3 separate regions of the Homo sapiens genome follow, and all the other regions are linked to region 2. The links are contacts of gene promoters, found by promoter capture Hi-C in blood cells and fetal thymus (Javierre and others, 2016). All regions are on one chromosome and are shown on one strand. Each heading gives the region's core, a stretch centred on a gene start or on the middle of the fragment in contact. The rest is flanking DNA. Distances are from core to core; before and after follow the strand shown. Region 1 overlaps CTNND2 (catenin delta 2). Region 2 holds the start of DNAH5 (dynein axonemal heavy chain 5). Region 3 overlaps CTNND2 (catenin delta 2).

Region 1 (3,289 bases), core at 565-3,064, 3.0 Mb before region 2:
ACAACTGAGTCCTTAGCAAGCTCTGTGCCCTGTCACTCAACTGGGCTCTGCATCCAGTTCCTGTCTGCTCGCTGGTTCCTCGCTAACCTCTTCCACCTGCTGCCCCCTTCTCTTTGGTTCACCATCTTTCTCTTCCAGGAAAGTCTCTCTTCCTGCCTTTGCCCTTTTGCCTCTGGGTCTTCCCTAATAAAGGTTAGCCTTTTATGAGTTACTGCCACATAATCATGAAGGGACAATATTTTAAAACCTGTTGACCACAGCTTTTAAAATTAGAATCCAATATTGCCCAGATGGTGGTGTTTATTAAACCACATCAAGTGTGTAATTATCTCCTGAGACCTCACACACAGCGGTGCTCCAAGTCTCTGGTAAATCAGGATTAAGTTCTGGGAAAAATCAAATCACGCAAACAAGTGTTTATTAGGTGTCTGGATGTGCCTCGCCTAGGAAGTCCTGAGGCAGCGCACTGTCTGCATGGCTGGTTGAACACAGCCCTGCCTGCTCGCGAGAAAAGGCTGCTTCTCTCTTCCAGCCCTTGCCGATCCATCATGTCGTTTCATTCTCATAACACTGATTGGCTCACTGTAATTCTTAATAATCACTGCTTTCCAAAAGACACCATCCATATGCTTTCCACACTCCATGCGCTTTATCTTTTTAAGCCTGCTGGAATTACAGAAATAAGAGGCCTAAGAGGCCACCTCCATGCTTCTGAGATGGGTGGACGTTTCCACAGGTACAGGGGGTTCCTGATCGTCACCCAGGGTTGGACTAAATGTGATAAGCAATGACAGTACACTAGAAGGATCAGCTTTCACAGAGCTGGGAGCGGGCCATTTATTTCAGTCAGATATTGGCCATTCATTTCTCATCATGTTGACAGTAAAGTCTGGCGTGGAGTTCTGCAACCATCATTCTCGCGGGTAGGGAGACCACTTTGCTGGGCAATGCTCTCTACCAGGTCCTCCCAGGTGTCATTTCAGAGAATAGGATTTCCTCAGCAGGGAGAGGGCAGAGAAGAGTAGGAAGAAAGCTTTCATAAATAAGAGCCTACATAGCTGTCATCTGTGTGGGTGCATATAACTTGTTATCCATCTTTCACTCTCAGAACAAAATCAAAATGCAGAAATCAAAATAAAAGTTTTAAAAACTAAACTGTGAGGAAAACAGCAAATTTATGCCATTTATATTACTAAATGGTGTGTTCACATTTGCCTTTCATCTTTCCTCTGATTTTTGGCATTTCTTAATGTGAATTAAAAAGGGTATAAAAATCAAGTATTTTTACGAATACAAGAAGTTCAAAATTTAAGCAATAGGAATGTGACAAAATTAGAAAAAAATTAAATGGAATGACATGGAAGTTATAGTTGGCTACGATAATAATTTATCAGTGGCATCTGCCGGTTTATCATTAATAATGAAAAGCCAATTAGATGTGGAACAGTTATGAAAGCATCAGTGCTATGTGTCAAATGTATATCACACTGAAGGAAGAAAGCACATTTGGTCTCCTCAACTTTTTATCCCAATTATGACAAAATGCAACTCAAACTATTTTTATTTTATTTATTTATTTATTTATTGAGACGGAGTCTCACTCTGTCACCCAGGCTGGGGTGCAGTGGCGCGATCTCTGCTCACTGAAATCTCGGCCTCCCGGGTTCAAGTGATTCTCCTGCCTCAGCCTCCCGAGTAGCTGGGATTACAGGCGTGTGCCAACAAGCCCGGCTAATTTTTGTATTTTTACTAGAGACGGGGTTTCACCATGTTGCCCAGGATGGTTTCGAACTCCCGAGCTCAGGCAATCCGCCTGCCTCAGCCTCTTAACATGCTGGGATTACAGGCATGAGCCACCTCGCCAGGCCAACTCAAACTATTTTAAGTTGGAAAAATTGTCCACGGAAACCCCGGATTTGCAGACACATGACAGTTTTCTTTATACTCGTTCCTCCTGAATTCAGGTTCATTACGTGCATGTCATGCATAAGAACCTGTTAGAGAAGGAGATTTGCTCTGAGTCTGTGTATACAAAACACAGAGTGGCCACCACAGTACAAAGAACAGATTCATTTCCTACTTCTAGCGAAGGTCTGAATGGAAGGCTCTCCTCTGAGTACGGGTTGGCTCACGGACTGGGAAGGACCGTCTTTGCTCAACGAGAAATAAAGCCTGGCTGGCTAGCCACGGCAGCCTCTTACCTGAGCGGTTGTTGGGAGACACGCGCACAGGGGAGATGGAGGGCGTGCGGGAGGAGGAGTAGGGCCTTTGCCGGTCCCTCTCGATGGTTGAAGACGAGGCTACAAAGTGGTATTGTGACCATCCATCCTGCAAAACACAGCACGCTCCTGTTAGATGGGCAAGACAGAGTGATTTTTCACCTCCGGACATTTTTAAGTTCCAAGTATCTGGATTTGCATAATATTTCTATGGTGTGTCAGAAGAGGTTCTTGAAGTTCTGCGCTCTCATGGAGGTGAACAGAGCCAAATGTGAATGAAGACACACCTCCTTCCCTCCAGAGAGCCTGGCGGGTAGGGCCTGCTTTCCTTCATGAATGTTGAATAAATGGTCCCTTTACAAACCCGCTCTGGTCAGAAGCTTCGACTTCGATGAAAATACGATGCTCAGAATGTTAGGGGACCCGGAAACTGTCTATTTTTTGCCGACCTGGTTCCAGCTCTGCCTGGCTCCCTCTTCCGCTGCCTCAAGATTTTCCACAAGGGTTTACCCCTTTGCTCCCAGGACCTATCTGTTGGCAACCAGAATCCAGGGCAGCGTCCTCCCTTCCCGTTTACCTGCCTGTGTCCTTTCCAGCCCCAAATGCCCACCCTCGCCTGTCTCCAAGCTGGTCTGCTCCAGGAATGATATTTTTCAATATAGAGCATATTCAAAATGCATCCTACCAAGCCTCCGTTAGGCTTCTGACATCTAGTTAATATACAGAAAGCATCTATACTATTTTTCCTTATAAAAACCGCATAAATATATCACAGATTATTTTGTGAATTTACAAAGCATAAAGAAGAAAATAAAAATAGGTGGTAATTCCACCCTCTCCACCTGAGAGAACTCCTGTTAACCTGTCATGGTATTTCCTTCCAGTCTTTTTTTCTTTTTTAAATAGATTTTATTTTTATCAAAGTAACATGTTAAATAGTACTAACATTATAGCAAAGAAAAGCAGTCACCTGCTCCACCCCCAAATCCTCCTTTACAGAGGCCATTGCTTTCAATTCTTTTAGATTTTTTATTTTTTTCCCCTGACAACATTTAGACTTTTAAGGGGCT
Region 2 (3,449 bases), core at 842-3,341:
TGATCACCGTCAGTCGCTGATTGGGTTCCTCATCCTCCACCATCCCCCACGTGCTGTCTCATCCCCCTGGCCTTTCTTCAGCAAGAATCCTGGTAGGTCGTCAGTTTAGCCAGAATCCCCCTCCCCATTGATGTCTCCTCTAAGCACTTTCCTATCCACTGACCCCTGCCCTGCTCCTTGGCTACAAATCCTCACTTGGCCATGCCATATTCACAGTTGAGCCCAATCTCTCCCATCACTCCCCAGATAGGTCCTTATACCTAACACGACGGTCGTGAATAAAGTCTTACTTTACCATGCTTTACCAAGTGTCACTGAATAATTTTTTTTCTTTAACACAGTGCACTAAGTAGAAACTGTGTAATTATTTACATAATACACTGCAATACTATTAAGGTAATTCTGTTAATATTATACTTCAGTGGAGTGAACCAAACCAGCATCCTAAATATATAATTGAAACCTCCAAAAGACTTGACTTACTCTCAAAACATAGTTCATGTCAAGGAAGAATAATTCATTAATTATACCTGAGATTTTATCATCAATTGTGGTGTTTCAGACTTGGTACTGAAGCACAGGAAAAATGTTCAGACATGTGAAATGTTTAATTCATTCAACTTATTCCACAAGCATATATTAAGGACCAAGCATATACTATGGACCAAGCTCTGTGTTAAAGGAAGATTATTTTAAAATGGAGAGAACTCGCAATCTAGCAAGAGAAAGAGACATGTGGGTAAATGTCATTTCACTACAGTGATGTGACAAGGACTCTATAAGACATCGAAGGAAAGTGCTGACAGGGTACAGGAAGGAAACTCACACCTCCTCCTCAAAGTGTCAGGGGACGCTTCTCAGAGGAGGTAACACTAGCACTTGGTCTTGAAGAATAAGCAGTGCATGGACTGGCTGGAGTCAGCTCTTCCAGAATGGTCTTCTAACTCTAGCAAGCAAGTTCAGGGGCTTGGCTGCAAGACGTTCACCTTGGGAAGGATGCATCAGAATCTTGTGGCTTGGGCAAGTGAGGGGTGGCAGATGGTGGCATACTTAAAAAATTCAGAGGTAGATGCCTGCTCTTTTGTGGTAAAAACAACAGGCTAGGGGGGATCATGTGAGCTTCTGGGGATACACAAAAAGACACAGTGATCAAGCCCAGTAGGAAGCATGGGTTAATGGTTGAGAACTGAGTCCTAGAGAAACCTCCAATTTCTTCTGACGTTAATTGGCAGTGGAAGAGGTTTCCAAATCCCTCTCTATGCATTTGCATAATAAAAAGCTGCTGAGCTGAGCCCTGTGCTAGGGAAGTTCATTCTTCAATGTGATTTCCAAAGGCACAGCCTTGCATCTCACTGTCTGTGACCTCATTTGCAGGCATATAGAACAGGGGAGTGATTTCAAAGCCTAAACCTTGCAGCCTAGAATCTGCCTTAACTATTTCTAATCACCAACTAAAGTTTACAGGTTTGAAAGAATACAAAGTGCCCAAACCACTATGAATGTGTTTTTGACCCCAGGAAAGCATCTTCCCAAAAGATGCAGCATGAATTTCTAGGTGCGTAGTTTAAGCGGCAACGTGCAGAAAAGCCTACAGATGCAAAATTTTTTTTATTTAAAAAATGAATATGTAGCCTATGCACCAGGTGAACATTAGTTAAAAAATGTGTTTCTCGCAAATTCATCAGTGTGTGACTTTGAACCTTTTTCAAGTTTGTTTTTTCCACCCAGGTGTGACAGATGATAATCCAAAACACACATGCAAAGGTACAGACAACAGCACCTTACCGTTAAAACTCGAGTGACGCTATGCTTCCAGAGCTGTCTCCTCCCAATCCTAAACATTGTAGCCGTGCATGGACAGGCTGGAGTCAGCTCTTCCGGAATGGTCTTCTAACTCCTGGCAGACCTGCTCAACATCCAACAGGCTTCCAAATGGAAAGTTTTACTTCCATTTTACTTTCACGTTTCTAATTTGCATGTATTATTCACTACATTCACAGAATAAAAATTAAAACTCCACTTATACCACTCAAGTTTTTCTCCTAGAGTGTCTGCCCTGGGCCTCTCCTCTCTCTCGAAGCCTGGTGTTGTTAGGGTAATATTGTTTATACACTATACAGTTGAACCATGCCTCTTAATCATGTTTATCAAGCAATCAAAGCATTTTAACTGCTCGGTAGCAACACAACTCCTTCTGTTGTTCAATTAATTCTATTCACTGCCCAATAATAAGCATTGAGTCAACAGTGATATCTAAATAGTTTCTTTGAACAATGAGAAACTTTAAACCATATCAGATTAGAAATCCAAGAAGCCACAGCTCTGAATATATTGTCCATGTCGAGAAACTCAGTCTTACTTTGTGTAAACAACTTTGCAAGCACGATGCACTGCCAGCATTGTGACTAATTGTGACTAATTGCCAGATAGGCTAATTGTGACCCATAGGAGCCATTTTCTCCACCACAAAGAACAAGAAGTCTGTTTCATATGCAAATAGCAAACCATGTCCATAAATTACTTGTGCTCACACAGTTGCACATACACTTCAGCCAAGGTAATTTATCCTATGTGGCTAAACATCTTGATCATCTTAACTGTGAAGATGTAATGGGAAAACACTGCCAAATGCTTTGAGAGATCTCTCATGTATGGTTTCTCCCATCGAGTTGAATAAAAGGCAGGACACTTAAGGTTGGTCTTGTTGAATCTAGAATTTAGTCCTTGGAATTCACAGTCCAGCAACTCAAATCCTAAAAGGTCATCCAAGGATAATCAGGAAATTGGGAACTCATCCTGGTAACATCCTGCTAGTCAACCTCTGTGGAGCCTGACTTGGAAGGCAGGGTGCTGACATGGTTTCAGAACATGGAGATTCACTTGGTCCATATCCAATGCTAGGGCACGGACGGCCTCCATATGTCAGGTTAACAGACAACATTTAGACCTCAATATTATTTGGTAAGTAAATAACTAGAACACAGGAAGTTTAAGTTTGTTTGCAGGATTTTTTTTTTCTTTTTTGAGACCTGCAGGTCTCACTCTGTCACACAGGCTGGAGTGCAGTTGCGTGACCACCACTCACCACAGCCTCAACCTCCCAGGCTCAGGTGATCCTCCCACCTCAGCCTTCCTAGTAACTGGGACTACAGGCAAGTGTCACAACACGCGGCTAATTTTTGTATTTTTTGTAGAAACAGGTTTGGCCACATTGCCCAGGCTGGTCTCAAACTCCTGGCCTCAAGCAATTGCCCACCTCGGCCTCCCAAAGTGCTGGGATTATACGCATGAGCCACCAGGCCAGGCCCTGCAGGATATTTGTTGAAGTCAACCTCTGGTTGTTGGTAAGCGGCTGTTGTCCGTTTCTAATAAAAAGTGTTGAAGACAGTATCTAGACTCTGAGTCCCTTCTCTGTGTGGTGCTGAAGACACCAGAAAATAGCAGTAGGA
Region 3 (3,374 bases), core at 856-3,355, 2.7 Mb before region 2:
GTGATCTGCCCACCTCAGCCTCCCAAAGTGCTGGGATTAGAGGTGTGAGCCACCAGGCCTGGTCATCTCTTTCTATTTTTTAAAGTACCTTTCATTTACTGGTTCAGGTAGTTTTGATCCATAAAGACAAAAATCCACATTACTAACAGAATTTAGAGATCTTTAGTTGACAAAATAAAATAACTTTTTCGTCACCTAACTACAGCATGATGTTGATGCCTCTCAGATCCTTCAAATTAATAACTCAGACTCAAAAGGTATTGCTACCACTTGGGCTTTGTTTGAATTCTAAGTAAAAATAATTTATTTCCCAGAATACAGCTTTAGTTGAGCATGGCAAAATCACACTGGGCCAATGGATTCTCGCCTCATTTCCATAATTATCATAAATACACACAAAAGCATAAATAAAGAATAAGGAATTAACTTCACAAATATACTTGGAACAAGACATAAAGCTGCAGAGTGTCACCACATTTAACTCTCTGCTGTAATAAGTGCCACAGACAAATAGAGTTAAATGGGTTAATTAGTCACCAGTGGCCATTTTAATTGCAGTATTGAAAATCAGGCACAAATGCTAGAAGAATTCTCATTACAGGGTTACCTGGGCTTTCATGGGAGGGTTCGCTTGGGAGAGCGGCATCTCTAAAACATTGTGGAACTGATTACATCTCTTCCTCCCCTTTACCTTTCATAATTAGCTGTACACTATTAAGTTAATGCACATTTATCTACAACAATTCAATTCAGACTGCAAGAGAGAATCTTTCTAGTCTATAATTACACTCCAGCTTAATTAGCATAATTTCCACTGCACATATTTTAATAAAGAAGCTGCCATTATGGGTTGGCTTCAGAAGTGGAAACTCTTCCAGGGAGATACAAATGCTTCCTACTCTCGAACTGCCACAAATGCAAAGAGACGACCTAAAGCTGACTTTCTTTTTTGAGACGGAGTCCAACTCTGTTGCCCAGGCTGGAGTGCAATGGCGCGATCTCAGCTCACTGCAACCTCCATCTCCAGGGTTCAAGCAATTCTCCTGCCTCAGCCTCCCGAGTAGCTGGGACTACAGGCGCCCGCCACCACGCCCGGCTAATTTTTGTATTTTTAGTAGAGATGGGTTTTCGCCATGTTGGCCAGTCTGGCCTCGAACTTCTGACCTCAGGTAATCCACCCACCTCGGCCTCCCAAAGTGCTGGAATTACAGGCGTGAGCCACCGTGCCCGACCTGAAGCTGACTTTCCATGAGACAGTACTGTTGGGAAGGGCATGCTTCTGCAGGAGGGGACCTGATGGATTCTCCCCACGTGGAGCTAACGGCTAATCCTCAGTGATGGCTGATGGCTGGTGATGGGTGATTTGGCAATTGGGCTACGTGGTGATGGGGTTTGACCTCATCAGTCTGTAAATGTCTCATCTGAGAGGCTTGAAAAACATTTCTACAGTTTATTTTGGATCTGCCTCTCCAGGGGAAAGCCATTTGAGTGCCTGCAATCCAGCCACCACTAGATGTCACCAGTCATTAACTGGGACACAGATAAATGAGCCCTTTAAGATATTTTTATTAACTTGAAAGACCTAAGCAACTGGTTGTCTTTTCTGCAACTCCCTTGTGTGGGGGCCTGTTAACAACGAGGGAACCAATCTATTTGCCCAGCCCTGAAATGGCAAATGCCCACCGTGTGATTTAAAAGGACTGCACACACTTTGCAAATGTTAGAAACCTGTCCTGATAATAACCAGAATTGTCTGATATAAAGGAAAATCTTCAGTTCTAGTAGCTCATTATATTTTGCACAAACATCTGGCTATTCAAATAAAGTTCGCAAAAAAGATTTTGCCAGTGGCATTAATGTTCTTACTAGATCCCTTAGAGAGAAGAATGAGAGGCATTTTGCCTCCTCTGAATTTCCTGATGTTGAACGTGAAGTCATAGTATGATGCACAAGAAGATGGGCTTTGAAAAAGAGTAGGAAATCATCGCTGTCATCCAGAAAAACTTTAATGAGAAAACTAGAAAGGAGGCAGATGGAACAAACCAATGATTGTTGCGAAGTCCCAAAAAACTGTTTCAAATCCAAAAGTGGCAATGGTAGAAGGTGTGATTCTACCAATGGTTGAAGAGACCTTGAAAGAAGTAGGGGTTTTTAGAGATGCTAGACACCAGCATCATTTCTGGAAAATCCAGGTAGGTGCCATGAGGCACGGAACATGTGTCAAACATTTCCTTTTCCACATGGATATTTAAAAATGTAAACATTTTTAAAAACCTATTTTGAGTGAGTTTAAATAGTAATTTCAGTAAGGTATCTTCTCAGTCACCAAAGATTCGATTTAAAAATAATGCAACAGCCCAGGCACGGTAGCTCATGCCTGCAATCCCAGCACTTTGGGAGGCTGAGGTGGGCAGATCACTTGAGGCCAAGAGTTCAAGATCAGCCTAGACAACATGGTGAAACCTCATCTCTACTAAAAAGTACAAAAAATTAGCTGGGCGTGGTGGCATGCACCTGCAGTCTCAGCTACTCAGTGTTGGGGGCTGAGGCACGAGAATTGCTTGAACTTGACCTGAGAGGTGGAGGTTGCAGTGAGCCAAGATCATGCCACTGCACTCCAGCCTGGGTAGCCTGGGTGATGGAGTAAGACTCTGATACACACAAAAGAAAAAATAACATAAAAATAACATAGCAAATATATATATAAAGTACTATCACACTATAATGGTGTAATGGATTAAAAAATGATGTAATGAAGACTCATTTATGCCATCACAATCTGCATTTTTTTACCACAACACTAACCATTTAGAGCTCATGTGCCTGCAGACAGTTACTTAAATTTGTACTTATGTCTTCAAAATTACGGGTAATTTTTTTTCTTTTAAAACAAGATGTTCATTGCAGGGAGCAATGTGCACACTGACCCTTTTAAACTCTGCCACTGTTGCAAAGGTTTTCAGTAGGATTCTCATAGCGGTCTGAAGAGATAGGGAATGTTAGTTAACAAAACTGAACTGTCCTCATTTCAACCATGCATAAATGCTCACTCTGTTCCTTTTACCGAAACTTTTCCTTTAGAAATACAACAACACAGCTAAGAGCATGGCCTCTGGAGGCTACCTGCCTTGGCTTGAGTCCAGCTTCTCTGCTTACTGACTGTGAGACTGTGGGCAAGCTACATTAGCTCCCCGGGATTTAGTTTGCTCAGCTGTAAAATGGAAAAATAACAGCAGCCAGCTTATAGAAGTGAAGAGGAATGAATGGGGGAAAGCGAGGCAGTGCGCTTTGAACAGCGCTTACCCCAAGCTAGTGATACTGAATCACTCATCTTTATTTGCTCCTTAGCCTTCAAAAATGTAAGAAAACAGCTT

Evidence for each region. The method cuts DNA at HindIII sites, captures the fragments that hold promoters and counts their contacts. A CHiCAGO score of 5 or more calls a contact.
Region 1: a fragment that was not itself captured here is called in contact with the fragment with the promoter of DNAH5 in region 2 in 1 of 17 cell types (endothelial precursors); the score reaches 5.6 in endothelial precursors.
Region 3: a fragment that was not itself captured here is called in contact with the fragment with the promoter of DNAH5 in region 2 in 1 of 17 cell types (endothelial precursors); the score reaches 5.2 in endothelial precursors.

What each region holds. Positions count from the first base shown.
Region 1 is chr5:10,990,350-10,993,638 of GRCh38, forward strand. CTNND2 (catenin delta 2) reads right to left here. Exons shown (of 22, transcript NM_001332.4): 19 at 2,202-2,328. Among named protein-coding and RNA genes, the nearest start is that of CTD-2154B17.1, 200 kb to the left of the region's middle. The HindIII fragment of the contact is 1,566 bases long and covers 1,032-2,597 here.
Region 2 is chr5:13,942,597-13,946,045 of GRCh38, forward strand. DNAH5 (dynein axonemal heavy chain 5) reads right to left here and starts at 2,092. Exons shown (of 79, transcript NM_001369.3): 1 at 1,786-2,092. The coding sequence starts at 1,842. The HindIII fragment of the contact is 10,431 bases long and covers 1-3,449 here.
Region 3 is chr5:11,265,946-11,269,319 of GRCh38, forward strand. All of the region lies in intron 9 of CTNND2 (catenin delta 2), which reads right to left. Among named protein-coding and RNA genes, the nearest start is that of CTD-2154B17.1, 480 kb to the left of the region's middle. The HindIII fragment of the contact is 5,464 bases long and covers 1-3,374 here.